3 separate regions of the Homo sapiens genome follow, and all the other regions are linked to region 2. Evidence: promoter capture Hi-C in 16 types of primary human blood cells and fetal thymus (Javierre and others, 2016). All regions are on one chromosome and are shown on one strand. The core of a region is centred on a gene start or on the middle of the fragment in contact, and the rest is flanking DNA. Distances in the headings are between cores, read along the strand shown.

The links. The method cuts DNA at HindIII sites, captures the fragments that hold promoters and counts their contacts. A CHiCAGO score of 5 or more calls a contact.
Region 1: a contact is called between a fragment that was not itself captured here and the fragment with the promoter of OR1L1 in region 2, in 1 of 17 cell types (endothelial precursors). The highest score is 6.4, in endothelial precursors.
Region 3: a fragment that was not itself captured here is called in contact with the fragment with the promoter of OR1L1 in region 2 in 1 of 17 cell types (endothelial precursors); the score reaches 5.1 in endothelial precursors.

Annotation. Positions count from the first base shown.
Region 1 is chr9:122,472,506-122,477,201 of GRCh38, forward strand. It overlaps OR1J1 (olfactory receptor family 1 subfamily J member 1), which reads right to left. Exons shown (of 1, transcript NM_001004451.1): 1 at 4,453-4,696. The coding sequence ends at 4,453. It also overlaps a transcript of OR1J2 not described here. Among named protein-coding and RNA genes, the nearest start is that of OR1J1, 3.1 kb to the right of the region's middle. The HindIII fragment of the contact is 2,151 bases long and covers 785-2,935 here.
Region 2 is chr9:122,658,199-122,663,114 of GRCh38, forward strand. It overlaps OR1L1 (olfactory receptor family 1 subfamily L member 1), which reads left to right and starts at 3,518. Exons shown (of 1, transcript NM_001005236.3): 1 at 3,518-4,450. The coding sequence starts at 3,518. The coding sequence ends at 4,450. The HindIII fragment of the contact is 3,812 bases long and covers 2,406-4,916 here.
Region 3 is chr9:122,519,493-122,524,413 of GRCh38, forward strand. OR1J4 (olfactory receptor family 1 subfamily J member 4) reads left to right here. Exons shown (of 1, transcript NM_001004452.1): 1 at 1-590. The coding sequence ends at 590. It also overlaps a transcript of OR1J2 not described here. Among named protein-coding and RNA genes, the nearest start is that of OR1J4, 2.8 kb to the left of the region's middle. The HindIII fragment of the contact is 921 bases long and covers 2,690-3,610 here.

The DNA.
Region 1 (4,696 bases), core at 610-3,109, 190 kb before region 2:
GCTAAAAGGTCTCCCTTTGGAATACATAAGATCTCACAATTTGTAGTTATTACTGGGTACCCCATGCATTTGGCCCCAACTTCAAAGACCCAAAGTTCATAAAAGGTGAAATGCTTCAATATTATAAAGGTATAATCAAGGCTATGGATAAAAAGTATGCTCTGGTAGAACAATCTTTCCACAGTGCATTCCCAGGAGATGAAGACCTAAAACACCATAATCTGCAATCAGGAGATTTTGTCTATTTGAAAAGACATTTAAAAAAAGACTCCCTCTGACCTCATTGAGAGGCCCATTTCCAGTCCTGTTAACCAACCTTTGTGCTGCCAACCTTAAAGGAATTGATTCTTGGATATATGTATCTTATCTAAGGAAAACATCAGCTCCTGAGTGGATCTGCACTCCTGTCAACGAATTAATACTAAAAATTTCTAAGAACTGAACTTAGTTTATAAAACTAAAAATTTCTAAGATTTGAAGCAGGTGGCATCTGTTTCTCCCAAGATGTTTGGATGACTTCTATATACCCTTTCCTTATTTCTAATTCTTACTTTATCTTATCCATTTCTTTTCCCTGGAAGACGATATTCCTGTCCACATTTCCCAGTCTGTTGGTACAGGGGAAAACTTACTGATTGTTGGATCTGTCATAAAAAATCCTGACCTGTTAATGACTCTAGTTTTCTTTTAGTACAATCTGTAACAAATTTAGTACAATCTGTAACAAACATCTCAGCTCCAACCCTCTGTACAAAGTGTATCATGGGACCATCCTATAAGGTTAAGCTTTCTCATTCACCTTCTATTCCTGTCTCCTGTCTCATCTACTCAAAACAATGATCTCCTAGTAGGGCCCTAGAGACGTGCAATGGATCATCTCTCTAAAAGTATTCCTTGGGTCTCTTTACCATATGTAAGAAAACTTGTTGGGACTGATTTTAAGAGGAAGGGCCATTAGCAGTTTATAGTAATATAACTGACCCCTGGTTTAATCCTGCCAGACACAGAAAATTTACAGATGGAAGAATTCTTTGTTTTCCTATTGGATATATTTACTTTTGTGGGTGGGATATGTCAATATGGGCCTCCAGATATTTAGACACTTGGACAACAGGAGGCTAATGTGTGTTGGGATGTTTTGTTTCTCTGTTGTCAATGCATAATAGATCTGAAACTGGTCACGGGACTGTCATTGGACTAGTCCCGTCTTACTATATCAAAGGGTTAAACATGAGTTACCAGGTGGGCATGGGACTCTGGATTGCTTCCTTTGTCAGATCTTTTGTATAATGGTATGATATAGCCACTAATGAAGAAATGGTAAAAGATTTATTTGCTACCCTAGGAATTCTTGCAGACTTCACTGCAAGTATACAATAGCATTCATTGGCTTCTCTTGCCAGGGTAGTGTTGACAGAATTGCTCTTGATTATCTATTAGCCGAGCAAGATGGTATCTGTGCGATTGCTAATACTGCATGTTGTACCCAGGTTAACTCCTCCAGGTAAGTTGAAACTCAGTTACATAAACTAAAAGAACAAGTCTATCTGGCTACAAGTCTCACCCATTTCTCTGGGGTCATTTTATCTATTTAGTTGGTTGCCTTTGTTCATGGCTCAAAAGCATCATGCAAACTGGACTCGTCATATTATGGCTATTTTTGCTCTGTATTTTCCTTTTTAAACTGTATACTTGTTGTCTGTTAAATCTTTGCAGAAATACAACTCCTGACAAAATAATGTTGGCCCAGCAATTTGAGATGATAGTCAATGCCTATGGAACAGACAAAATTAAATTTAATGATGAAATCCAGATGAGATAAGCCTAAGAGCTTCTCCTTCTGGCCTCCTTCTTGCTCAAATGTGGCTAAAAGGGTCTTGAGACTGACTTCCAGCTGTTTATCACTTCCGCCTGATGTGGGATGAGATCAACTAACTACAACAGGTCTATCCCAGCACCAAAGGACAATTCAAACCTGGCTACAGGCTAGTTGATCAATGATATTTTTAGAGAAAAATCATTATCAAAAGAGGGAAATGTGAAAGTTGCAGGTATCAGGATGAAATAACTTTTGTCACACCCAGACAAAATAGGGCTGGGAAGGCATGAAGGAGAGGGGGCTCATGCTTACGTGTCTGAGATAAGAACTATTTCCAAGAAGTTTCTAAGAGCTCCAGAAGACATCTCTTTGTATCTTTCACTCATCTGCTTTGTACAGCTTGCAGGTTTCACACATATACATATGCTTCTATGGCAAGGTTTATCACTAGACATTCTTCAGGACTGCAGTAATTCAGATAACATGCTCTCAAATGGTCATTTGCACAGTAACAGCATCTCTACCAATGAACTGATGACAACTTTAGCTTTGAGCCTCTGGAGCCAGTGGACTCCGTGTCTAAGCAGCTGACACGAACCTCTTCCTTCTTGCCAATGAGAGCTTCCCTTTACCCTGCCCTCACCAGATGCACTGGTGGCTTGTCATTTTGTGCACCCTGGGTTATAATTTTCATTTCTCATTCCTGAATAAACTCAACATATTTGGACATTTCTCTAATTTTTTTTTTCCTAGGTGAATACTTGGCAGGACAACAGGCAGACAAGGAGCAGCCTGGGCTACACCCTCCTCCATCCAGCTTGGCAGGGAAGGTTGGGGCAGGGCCTCGCTAGGAGATAGGGGCTAGAGGGCGAGGCCAGGGGCAGGGTTAGGCATGGGGACAGCACCACGGTGGGGTCTTCCTGGCTCACTGTCCACTACCAGGTACTGGGATCCCCAGTTATTTTATTGCCTCACCATGAAAAGAAGTGAAAGCATTCCCTAAACATAATTTCATCATTGTCTTTATCTCTCTCCCGCCACATTTCTTCTTTTCTATTGCTCTTTCTCTCACAAAAGCAGGGGATATATATGAAACTTGCTAAGTGGTTCTATTGAAGCTTCTTCCATTAAGCTTGAGATAAGGAGAAAAACAACCCTCTCCCTGTTAGGAGGATTTGGGGTTCACTATGCAGCTTTCTCTGAAAGAAAACTTTACAAGACACTCTCTTACCTCCAGCTCTCAGCTCTTTTTAGATCCACATTAGATTGAGAGGCTCAAGTGTTACGATATTGATTATTATTATTATTTCCTATCAATATCTTCATTTTGTGTGTCACAATTCACTTTAATATCTGTTGTCTCCCAGGTCTTGGTGCCTCAGTTGAAACTTCCAATTTAACATCCTGACACACACTACTCCCTCTTCCTGTGATCATCAGAACAAGATAAAACCTTGTGTGTCTGGATAGTTCTCATCTGTTAAGATTCAGGTAAAGAAACGCCTTCTTTGGGAAGTTGTTTATATCCTCTTCCATCAGACTGAGCTAATTATTCCTCTTCAAACCCACACAGTGTTCCATGTAAACTATTATAGTCTTTGCTACACTGAGTCACTCTGGAATCAGATGCCAAGATTCAAGTCTTCCTTTCACGAACTATATGATCTTGGGGTATTCTTCCCCTTTTAGAGCCTGAGTTTTTTAAACTTACCTTTTGGAGTTTTTGTCAGAATTAAGTTAGATGATTTTAAGGTATATTAAGTTCTTAGATCAGTCCCTGAGAGAACTGAGGTGACATTTATTTTGTCACTGAACATCTGTATGTGTTTGGGGAGAAAGGAAGTGTGGGCTATATTCTGGAAGGACAAGACAGCAGTGTGTTAATTATTATGTAAGGAGTGAGAAATGTCATATGTTTTTCTTAAAATTTCTGAAAGGGCTTCAGCTTCCTGGATATCTGGTGCCTGGGCGAAAGAGGAGCCATATCTTCACAAAAGTGGAAAATTCCTAAGAAATAGAGGTGTGAAGGGCCAGACACATTTTATAACAAATTTAAAATCTGGGAAAGGTCAGCCCTGATGGCTTCCTTTTCATACCAGCCAAAGTGACATAACATGCTCAGAATATTTTCCAATTCCATTACCCAAGAAAAGAGCAAACAAAGTCCTATACAACATATCCTATTTTACTATTCCCTCAAACAGATGCAATAATAATATCAGGAAAGCATTTCAGAGTGACAGCTGTGGAAGAAAGACAAGTGAGCTATATTTTCAATAATTTGTATTTCTGTATTATTGAGGAAAAATATTACATGGGATGTTTTAAAAGAAAGGTAAATATCAGTTAGAATAATGGTTTTTTTTTACTCAATAATTTTTTTTTCTTTTTTCTTTTTTTTGACAGAGTCTTGCTCTGTCACCCAGGCTGGAGTGCAGTGGCACGATCTTGGCTCACTGCAACCTCCGCCTCCTGGGTTCAAGTGATTCTTCTGCCTCAGTCTCCCGAGTAGCTGGGACTATAGGCATGCACCACCATGCCCGGCTAATTTTTTTGTATTTTTAGTAGAGACTGGGTTTCGCCATGTTGGCCAGGCTGGTCTCGAACTCCTGATCTCAGGTGATCCGTCTGCCTCAGCCTCCCAAAGTGTTGAGATTACAGGCATGAGCCACTGCGCCTGACCTACTCAAGAGTTTTCTTAGGGCTCCCTTAATGTCTTTATTTCTCAGACTGTAAATGAATGGGTTCAACATGGGAGTGACTGCTGTGTATATCACTGAAGCAATTATGTTCTTGTCATTGGTGTTGCTGGATGGGGGAAGAAAATAGAGACCAATAATTGTCCGATAATAGATAGTCACCACTGAGAGGTGGGAT
Region 2 (4,916 bases), core at 2,268-4,767:
GACTTTATTTTATATTCCACTGTTTCTCCAGTACCCATCACAATTCCCATCACATAATAAGCCTTTAATAAATGCCTATGAACTAATAAATTGATCAGAGCAATCAGATATTAATAGGCATGGTTATTGATCTCAAGGAGTATGCAGTCTGGAGGGACAGCTTAAACTAATATGCTTTTTTGAATCAACAAGAAATAGTTTATATTTTTGGCACTATGCTTTATTTGGGAATTGTTACTCAGCATATGATATCCAAATCTTTTTGCTAGCATCATAAAAAAGCAATAGAGTGGCAGGTTAAGAGCACTGAGTTAAACAGGAGTTAAACAACCTCATGAGATGTTTCAAAACTGATTCTGTCGCTTACTTGCTGTTCTACATTGGATAGCTCACTTCACCTCTCTGAGCTCAGATTTCTCAACTCTAATGTAAAGAAAATCAGACCACCTACCTCATTAAGGTGTTGAGATAAATAGATGAGATATTACATCTAATTTGTTTAGCTGAGTGCCTAGCACAGAGCAAGCACTCACTGAATTGTTGCTGTCTGGGATTTTTAAAAATTAATGTTTAAGCAATAAGACAAACAGATTGAGATATTGCATAGAATGGAGGTCCAAAGTGTTAAGTGGGGACAGAGACAAAGCCATTTCAACTGGTAGTCATCAAGCAAAGTGTCCTGGAAGAGGCTGAATTCGAGCCTTGCAGGTTAGGTTTAATAGATGAAGGAAAGGATAAGCAAAGACACAATAGTCTAAATGGGTGAGGGGCAATGAGTCAGAAGGAATCAGATAACCTTGGATTGCAGTTGTACTGGGATATGGGGAAGTTTAAGTCCTAATTTGAGAATTATATCATACACACAAAGTGAGATGTCCCAAATGACCAGAAATATGGATTGCCATAAAATATAAAATATATGTCCCTAGTGGCTGGAGGGAAGGAGGAATGGAGAATTGGTGTTCAGGGAAAATATATTTTCAGTTATATAAGATGAATAAGTCCTAGAAATCTGCTATGCAACATTTTTCCTATTATTAATGATACTGTGAACTAAAAATTTGTAAACAGGGTAGATCTCATGTTAAGTTTTCTTACCACAATGAAAGAAAAAAGAAAAGAAGAAATAAGAGAGTAGAAGCCTTATCCTTCTCATCCATTCAGCTCATCTGTCAGAATCCCTCCCCCATCACTTCCACCTGCTTAGAGCCATCTCTTTGTAGGAGGAAAACAAACATCACCTTAAATTTCAAGTAGTGAGAGCAGGAGCCATTTCAAATACATGACAATCTGAGTTCTAGAATGGTTCCAGTGAGGATTACTTTCTTACTTTCAAACAGATCCACACAATAAACTAGAGTGGCCAACCACTTCTTTTTTTTTTTTTTTTTTTGAGACGGAGTCTCACTCTGTTGCCCAGGCTGGAGTGCAGTGGCGTGATCTCGGCTCACTGCAAGCTCCACCTCTCAGGTTCATGCCATTCTCCTGCCTCAGCCTCCCGAGTAGCTGGGACTACAGGTGCCCGCCACTATGCCCAGCTAATTTTTTTGTATTTTTTTAATAGAGACGGGGTTTCACCGTGTTAGCCAGGATGGTCTCGATCTCCTGACCTCGTGATCCACCCACCTCGGCCCCCCAAAGTGCTGGGATTACAGGCGTGAGTCACCGCGCCCGGCCCCAACCACTTTTTTTGAAAGTTGCTTTAACAATAAAAATATCGATCTGGTTTGCTTAATGTTTGTGTGTTACAACTGTAATAAAATTAATAGCTAACGCTATATATATATGCCCTGATGGCTTTCCTGAGTGAGAAGCAAGGGTCATACATAAGTAGACTTAAGGATGCTTCAGACAGAAGAGTAAAGATTCCAGGCCTAGGGTCTAAAGTCTTAACCCTATTGCTTATTATATTTTAAAGTTCTAAGAACAGTGTCTAGCAAGGGACTGCTTCTAACACTGGGAGATGGGAAAGTGACTAGTGGCATAAGATGTTCTAGTTGTTTTAGCTTGATGATCAACGAATTCCGAGAAAACGTTCTCCAACCCCACATTCTGTCTTTCAATGTAAGCAGCACAGCGGTGAGGCTCAGGAAGTCTGTCACTTGAGCCAGCCTCACACAGGTGGGGTCTTTTTCACCAAAAGGAGTTAGGTCAGGAGGGTGATTTCTGAGAGAGAGAGAAGGCACTGACACTCCCCAGGCTCCTTGGGGAAGAAACTCCAAAACCGTAATAGTTCTTGGCTTGTTTTCTGCTGTCTTCTCCATCTGAACTCCAGGGACTTCTTGATGATCTCAAAGGATGCTCCCTTGACAGAGGGTGGGGTCTATGAGTGTCTTTAATCTCTTCAGCATGTGGGAGGCCCAGAGGAGGAAGAGAGGAAAATCTTCAGCTTCATGAGGGTTGAAAGCTTGTCTAGAATCAGGTGCCTTCTCTGTGTGGTTTTTTGGGGAAGCATATATATAACTGAGACTGGAATTGGGAAAAGAATTACACCAACACAGACAAGCATGCACTAACAATGACGATTTTAGCATTTAGGGGCTGGATAACAAAAATGAGGTTTATGTTACATTAAAAGAAATGTTGGCCGGGTGCGGTGACTAATGCCTGTAATCCCACCACTTTGGAAGGCCAAGGTGGGCGGATCACTTGAGATCAGGAGTTCGTGACCAGCCTGGCCAACATGGTGAAACCCCATCTCTACTAAAAATACAAAAATTAGCTGGGTGTGGTGGCACAAGCCTGTAATCCCAGCTACTCAGGAGGCTAAGGGGGGAGAATCGCTTGAACCCAGGAGGCAGAGGTTGCAGTGAGCTAAGATTGTGCCACTGCACTCCAGCCTGGGTGACAAAGCAAGACCTTGTCTCAAAAAAAAAAAAATAAGGAAAAGAAATGTTTTTACTATCCTGTTATTTCTGTCTATCTTTTGCCTCTTCATACCTATCCTTTCACTCAAATAAGGTTTCACTAAAAAATGAGGGAAATGGAGTAACTGTTGGGTAATCTCATATTTCAATGTCTTTTTACATGATTGCCAGCCTCCAGAATAACTGATGCAGACAGAAGTATCCGAACTAAGGGAAATCATTATTCCATCAGCTGGAAATTGAGAGATGAAACTTTTTTAAACCTGTCATAAACTAATTACTGAAAACCGTGAATACGATAAATATATACAGAAAAAGAAGAGAATAATTTCTCCAGGATTCCCCTCCTCTCCTTCTGGGAATTCTCTTGCACTCACTCCTTCCTCTTGCCCTATATCTCTTCTTTTCTCTTTTTCCCATTTCTGTTTCCCTGTAATTTGTTTCTTTATAGCAGGCAACTGAGATTAAAATATATATTAATTTCTAAATATCCCACATTAATGGAAAGAAACCACAATCCAGATAATTGTAATGTTTTAAATTTTTTCTTTGCTGATAAGAAGAATAAAAGGAGAAATTTTGGACAGATTGTATCAGATGTTGGAAGAATCTGTTACAGTGTTAGTTTATCTTTAGGTGAACCCACAACTATGGGAAGAAATAACCTAACAAGACCCTCTGAATTCATCCTCCTTGGACTCTCCTCTCGACCTGAGGATCAGAAGCCGCTCTTTGCTGTGTTCCTCCCCATCTACCTTATCACAGTGATAGGAAACCTGCTTATCATCCTGGCCATCCGCTCAGACACTCGTCTCCAGACGCCCATGTACTTCTTTCTAAGCATCCTGTCTTTTGTTGACATTTGCTATGTGACAGTCATTATCCCTAAGATGCTGGTGAACTTCTTATCAGAGACAAAGACCATCTCTTACAGTGAGTGTCTGACCCAGATGTACTTTTTCTTAGCCTTTGGAAACACAGACAGTTACCTGCTAGCAGCCATGGCCATTGACCGCTATGTGGCCATATGTAATCCCTTCCACTACATCACCATTATGAGTCACAGATGCTGTGTCCTGCTTCTGGTTCTCTCCTTCTGCATTCCACATTTTCACTCCCTCCTGCACATTCTTCTGACTAATCAGCTCATCTTCTGTGCCTCAAATGTCATCCATCACTTTTTCTGCGATGATCAACCAGTGCTAAAATTGTCCTGTTCCTCCCATTTTGTCAAAGAAATCACAGTAATGACAGAAGGCTTGGCTGTCATAATGACCCCGTTTTCATGCATCATCATCTCTTATTTAAGAATCCTCATCACTGTTCTGAAGATTCCTTCAGCTGCTGGAAAGCGTAAAGCATTTTCTACCTGTGGCTCTCATCTCACAGTGGTGACCCTGTTTTATGGAAGCATTAGCTATCTCTATTTTCAGCCCCTGTCCAACTATACTGTCAAGGATCAAATAGCAACAATTATCTACACCGTACTGACTCCTATGCTAAATCCATTTATCTATAGTCTGAGGAACAAAGACATGAAGCAGGGTTTGGCAAAGTTGATGCACAGGATGAAATGTCAGTAAAAGACCTAAGGTCTTAAGAGAATACCACAGATCTCTTGCCCTGGACTATAGGTTATTAATGGGTATGTGATTCTGAAATGATTATTAGATTCTGAAAGGATAGTACCTTCAATGATGGTGTTTCATTCCTTACAGAAGAATGTTTATTGCATGTATTGAAGCTACTCCTGAATATAATGCCTACAAACTAAGTTGGATCACTGTAATCTCCTGAGTATCCCTATTCATGCAGCTGGGTTTTCTTGTATAGTAATGTAAAGCTGCTTGAATGTCTTTGAGCTACTCTGTGTGTGTGTGCGTGCGTGTGTGCATGTGTGTGTGTATGTGTGTGTGTGTCGCTTCATCATATTAGCCCAGGGGCTCCTCAATAACGAGGTCTCTCTCTTTCTCCCATTATAAATGTCAGAACTGTGACTCCTTCCTCTGCATTTCCTCAAAGATTAAAGCCTGGCTTCTATAGTTGTCA
Region 3 (4,921 bases), core at 1,900-4,399, 140 kb before region 2:
TGGCATACGATCGGTATGTGGCCATCTGTCACCCCCTCCGCTACACCACTATCATGAAAGAGGGACTGTGTAACTTACTAGTCACTGTGTCCTGGATCCTCTCCTGTACCAATGCCCTGTCTCACACTCTCCTCCTGGCCCAGCTGTCCTTTTGTGCTGACAACACCATCCCCCATTTCTTCTGTGATCTTGTTGCCCTACTCAAGCTCTCATGCTCAGACATCTCCCTCAATGAGCTGGTCATTTTCACAGTGGGACAGGCAGTCATTACTCTACCACTAATATGCATCTTGATCTCTTATGGCCACATTGGGGTCACCATCCTCAAGGCTCCATCTACTAAGGGCATCTTCAAAGCTTTGTCCACCTGTGGCTCTCACCTCTCTGTGGTGTCTCTGTATTATGGCACAATTATTGGACTGTATTTTCTCCCCTCATCCAGTGCCTCCAGTGACAAGGACGTAATTGCCTCTGTGATGTACACGGTGATCACCCCATTGCTGAATCCCTTCATTTATAGCCTAAGGAACAGGGACATAAAGGGAGCCCTGGAGAGACTCTTCAACAGGGCAACAGTCTTATCTCAATGACATTTACTCTTCTTTATAACAGACATATGTACTGACCTATTTCCAGATCATAGATCCTTACTTCTGATCCCAGCAAGGGATAAGTGCTCAGTAACTCTCTGATGACTTGAATTGCATCCTGTTACAGTTATTCTCCCTTTTCCTCTTTAGTGCAAATTGTGAATTCTGAGTTTACATAATTGTTTATTTATCTTGCCTATTAGATTCAGAAATTACATAGTTAACAGAACTTAAATCCTTCATTTTATTTCCTGGAAATTTATTTGTTCTTAGGAATTGTTTAAATATGTTGACTAACAGGATTCCCTTGCCATAGAAAAGTTGAAGGATTGGGTACTTGTAAAGGCATTTCCCTTTCTTTCTTCCCATTCAGTTCTCTTCTCACATTTTTTATTGTTGTTGCTGATGGTGGTGGGTAAGGAGAAGAAACTATATAGTACCCTTTACAGATCCAAAAAGCTATTCACTGTCATAAGTTCAGCTGTTCCACTTCAGAACTTGAGGTTCCTCTTCTAGACTACAATAACTTTCATTCAACAGTTCACTTTCAGACCAATGTTTATGAAGCTTTCTGACTACACATGTGAGCTTCAATCACGCCGCAGACTTACTCCAGGTAATGAATGAGAAGAACAAAAAAGTCTTCACAGTCAGGAGCCTTCTGTTGCCGTCACTAAATTTGATCCTTTTCCCATTCAGTGTCTTCGTTGTCTTTCTTATTGAAAAGCATTTCTACTCAGCTTAATGGCCCCTAGTTTGTATTATATGCCCAAGTCATCTTTTATCTTTTTCTTCTATCTTCTATGGTCTCCGCCATCCAGTGAAGGGCATATAGGTCTCTTTTTTCATTCCTCTACTTAAAGATAAACAGAACTACAAATGCTTCTGAGAAGCAGCAATGTGTAGCTGCAAGAGAAGAATATTTGGAAAGCTAGATCTCATTTGTAATCTCTATATACCAGGGTGGTGGCTGCGTGGCCTCAGACAATTCACCCAATTCCTTTGAACCTCAATTTCTTCTTCTGTATAGGTGAAAAAAGTTCTGCAACACCTAACATATTTTATTTGAAGTAAATGCAGTAATAAATTGGGCTTAACACTACAGCTGACCAAGAATAATGAATGTGAATTTTCTCTACCTTCTCCATCAGAGATGAGTTTTGAAGCAGAACTTGTGCAGACACTCCTGAATTATGGTGACCATGGGCAGCTTGTCATGTTGGTTATATTCCCAATTCAAAAGCAATAACCTGCCCTAGGACACAGCAACATATCTGTTCTGGCTTGAGCTAGAACCAAATAACTAAAGGGCAATGAACAAGTGAGTTCATGTGTGGGTAGGTAAGGAAAGACAGATCAGAAAAAGACCTTACTCTTCACTTGTTTGATATTGACTCAAAGAGTGATCCTTCATCGGGGGCTCATGTAGCTGCCTTTTGGCATCCAGTCCTTTGTAGAACAAGAAAGAGTGCCACCCCCACTCCTTGCTGCAAGCACAGGGTCACTTTGTTTACAGGCTTAGCCCCGACCTTTTCCAGAGCCAAAACCTGAACAGGGATAGAATCTTTATTGTTGGTTTATTGTTGGTCTAGGTAAAGCATGCCTTGATAGCCTCAGCACAATCATGACCTGCTGTACACTCTCATCTCTGCTATAGTGATGTGATCTGTAGAACTAAGTGCCTGACTCAGTTTCCCTGCCGGCACCCCAGTTCTGTTGTTCAGATCCCTGAAGATCTGCCTAGTCTTGTCAGGCCCATCCTCCAGAGAGACCAATATTGTCATTTATGTTTTAGCCACAGGCTGGTGACACTTCTCTGAATGACTTTTCCTCAAGAAATGGCAAGCTCACTTGTCTGTTGGGAAGTGTTTCATCACTATCTGTCTTACCAGTCCACCTCATCTCCCAGATCAGTTTGTCTTGGTTTTGGACAGCCCAAAGCACACTGGGGTGCACCGTATTGATTTGAATATGCAAATAGAACTGAACATCAATCACATTGGAAGTGTGCACTTTATATGAGTGCATTTCCCTCTAGCCATGCCAGGGCTAGGATTCGTGACCTTTTCCAGTGAAGCACCTCATTGAGTTTAGAACAAAGCTTGCTGCATTTTTGAAATCCATGAATGTGTGATTTTTTTTCACAAGTTAACAAATAGTTCTGAAAATTGGCAATTATGGACGTTTCAAGTGACCAGTGTACTTCCTTCTCAAAAGTTAACACTAATTCTTTCACAGTGTGACAATAGAACAATCTTCCTCAGAGGGGAGGAATCAAAACATCCTAGAACCAGGAACTCCAGCACTTGATTTTAGCACATATGTAACACACAATTCTGACATGGAAATTTTAAGAGTAAACAAAAATTATTCTATTTTGTCACAGATGGAAAGTGGAAGGGGAATTTGCTAAAGAATTAAGTTCACTTAGCTTTTGAAGGAAAAAATAAACCCATTAATGTTGTGATGGTTATATTATTTGAATCCAAGAACTGTGTGCATGTGTGTGTGTGTGTGTGTGTGTAACTCACATATACATACAATTTAATTTGTTTGTAATTAAGGACAAATGTTGGAATTAATACTAAAAATAGTAAAACATTCTTTATTTTATAGATTGTGCCCCTCAGTAGCCATTCAGCAAGTTACCTGTCTGTGCCAGGCAGTGTGCCTATTCTTGGTCAAACAGATCTGGATAAAGAGAAAGCCTCCAGGCAAAAGAAGCTCATATTCTGATAGTGTAGCAACAGGTAAACTAAGAAATATGCAAGAGTACAAAAAGTGCCTTAACGTAATAACACCACGAATAGTTGTGCTTATTTTGCATGGCTACTGTGTGTCAGGCATTGTATTAAAAGCTGTACCTGTATTATGTCATTTAATCCTCATAATAATTCTACATATATACACTGTTACTATCTATATTTTACAGCTGGGAAAATTGAGGCTTAGAGACGATGAAATACTTACATGGTAGTAACACAAGGGCGTATAGTTAATGCTGCCTGGATATCAGCAAAAGCTTTACAGGGGAAGTAATTCTTCAGTTGGGGGTTGAAGGATGCTCAGGATTGATACATAATGGAACAAATGAGTCTAGGTAGAGTGGACAGAGTGGGCCAGGGCACTGAATTTGCATGGTATGTTCAGGGAAATGTAAGAAAAATGATGTTGCTATACATAGGTGTGTATGAGTCAAGGAAGCATCAAGAGGTGAGTCTAGACAGGGAGACAAAGACTATATTGTGAGGGGGGTAGATTGTCCTGTTAAGAGGTTTAGACATTGCCTTGCAAGTGATGGGCACCATTGGCTGGGGTGGGGTGGAATTGGGATTAGTCTCAGGGAAGGTTATGTTTGTGTTTTCTAAAGATTACTCGGGTAACCAACGTGTGAGATGGTTTGGCAATGGATCGGAGTGCCTTGAATCAAGATGCTTAATTAGAAGGTCATTGTACATTCAGGTAACAGATAATGTGTGCCTGGATGAAGACAATGGCATATAGATAGAGAAGAGAATACTCTTGAAGGTAGACTAGACGGTATTGGTAATTGATGGGAAGTAGGTGATAGAATGAAGGATTGCTCTTGATTTATGGTTCTGTGGACTGATATTTAAGAACAAAATGGAAGACTAGGCACCTTAAATAATTTTGATTAGGTTTAACAGTCTTAAGGAAGTGAGGAAACAAACTGAAGACCATTTGCTTCTTAAAAATGGGTTCTGAGCAAGAAGAAAGCAAAACCCCTAAATAGGCAAGGGGCACTGGGAAGCTTTCTATCATGCTACCTCTCTCCATTACCCCACCTCTGATTCAAAGCATGCCCTGCTCATTACCCTACCAAGGTGCAAAGATTTATAAGTCACCTGTATGTCAGCAGGAATTATTTTAATGCTAACATCACATTAATTCTCTTTGACATAGATGACCTTAAAGGAATAGAAATTTGAGCTTATGTTTTGGGGATGGGTGTGATAAGATAGTCATGTGCCTCATAATGATGTTTTGGTCAACAATAGACTCCATATGCCACAGTGGTTTCAAGCTCATAATGGAACTGAATAAATCCTATCACAGAAATACTTACCATAGTGTTACAGTTGCCTACAGCATTTAGTACATTAACAAGCTGTACAGGTTTGTAGCCTGGGAGCATTAGTTATACCATATAGCTTAGCTGTATAGTAGGCCATCCCATCTAGGTTTGTGTAAGTGTACTTTATGATGTTTGCACAATGACAAAATTGCCCAGTGAAACATTTCTCAGAACATATGCACATAGTTAAGTAATGTATGACTGTATATCAAAGGAGGAATAAGTTTGGAACTTT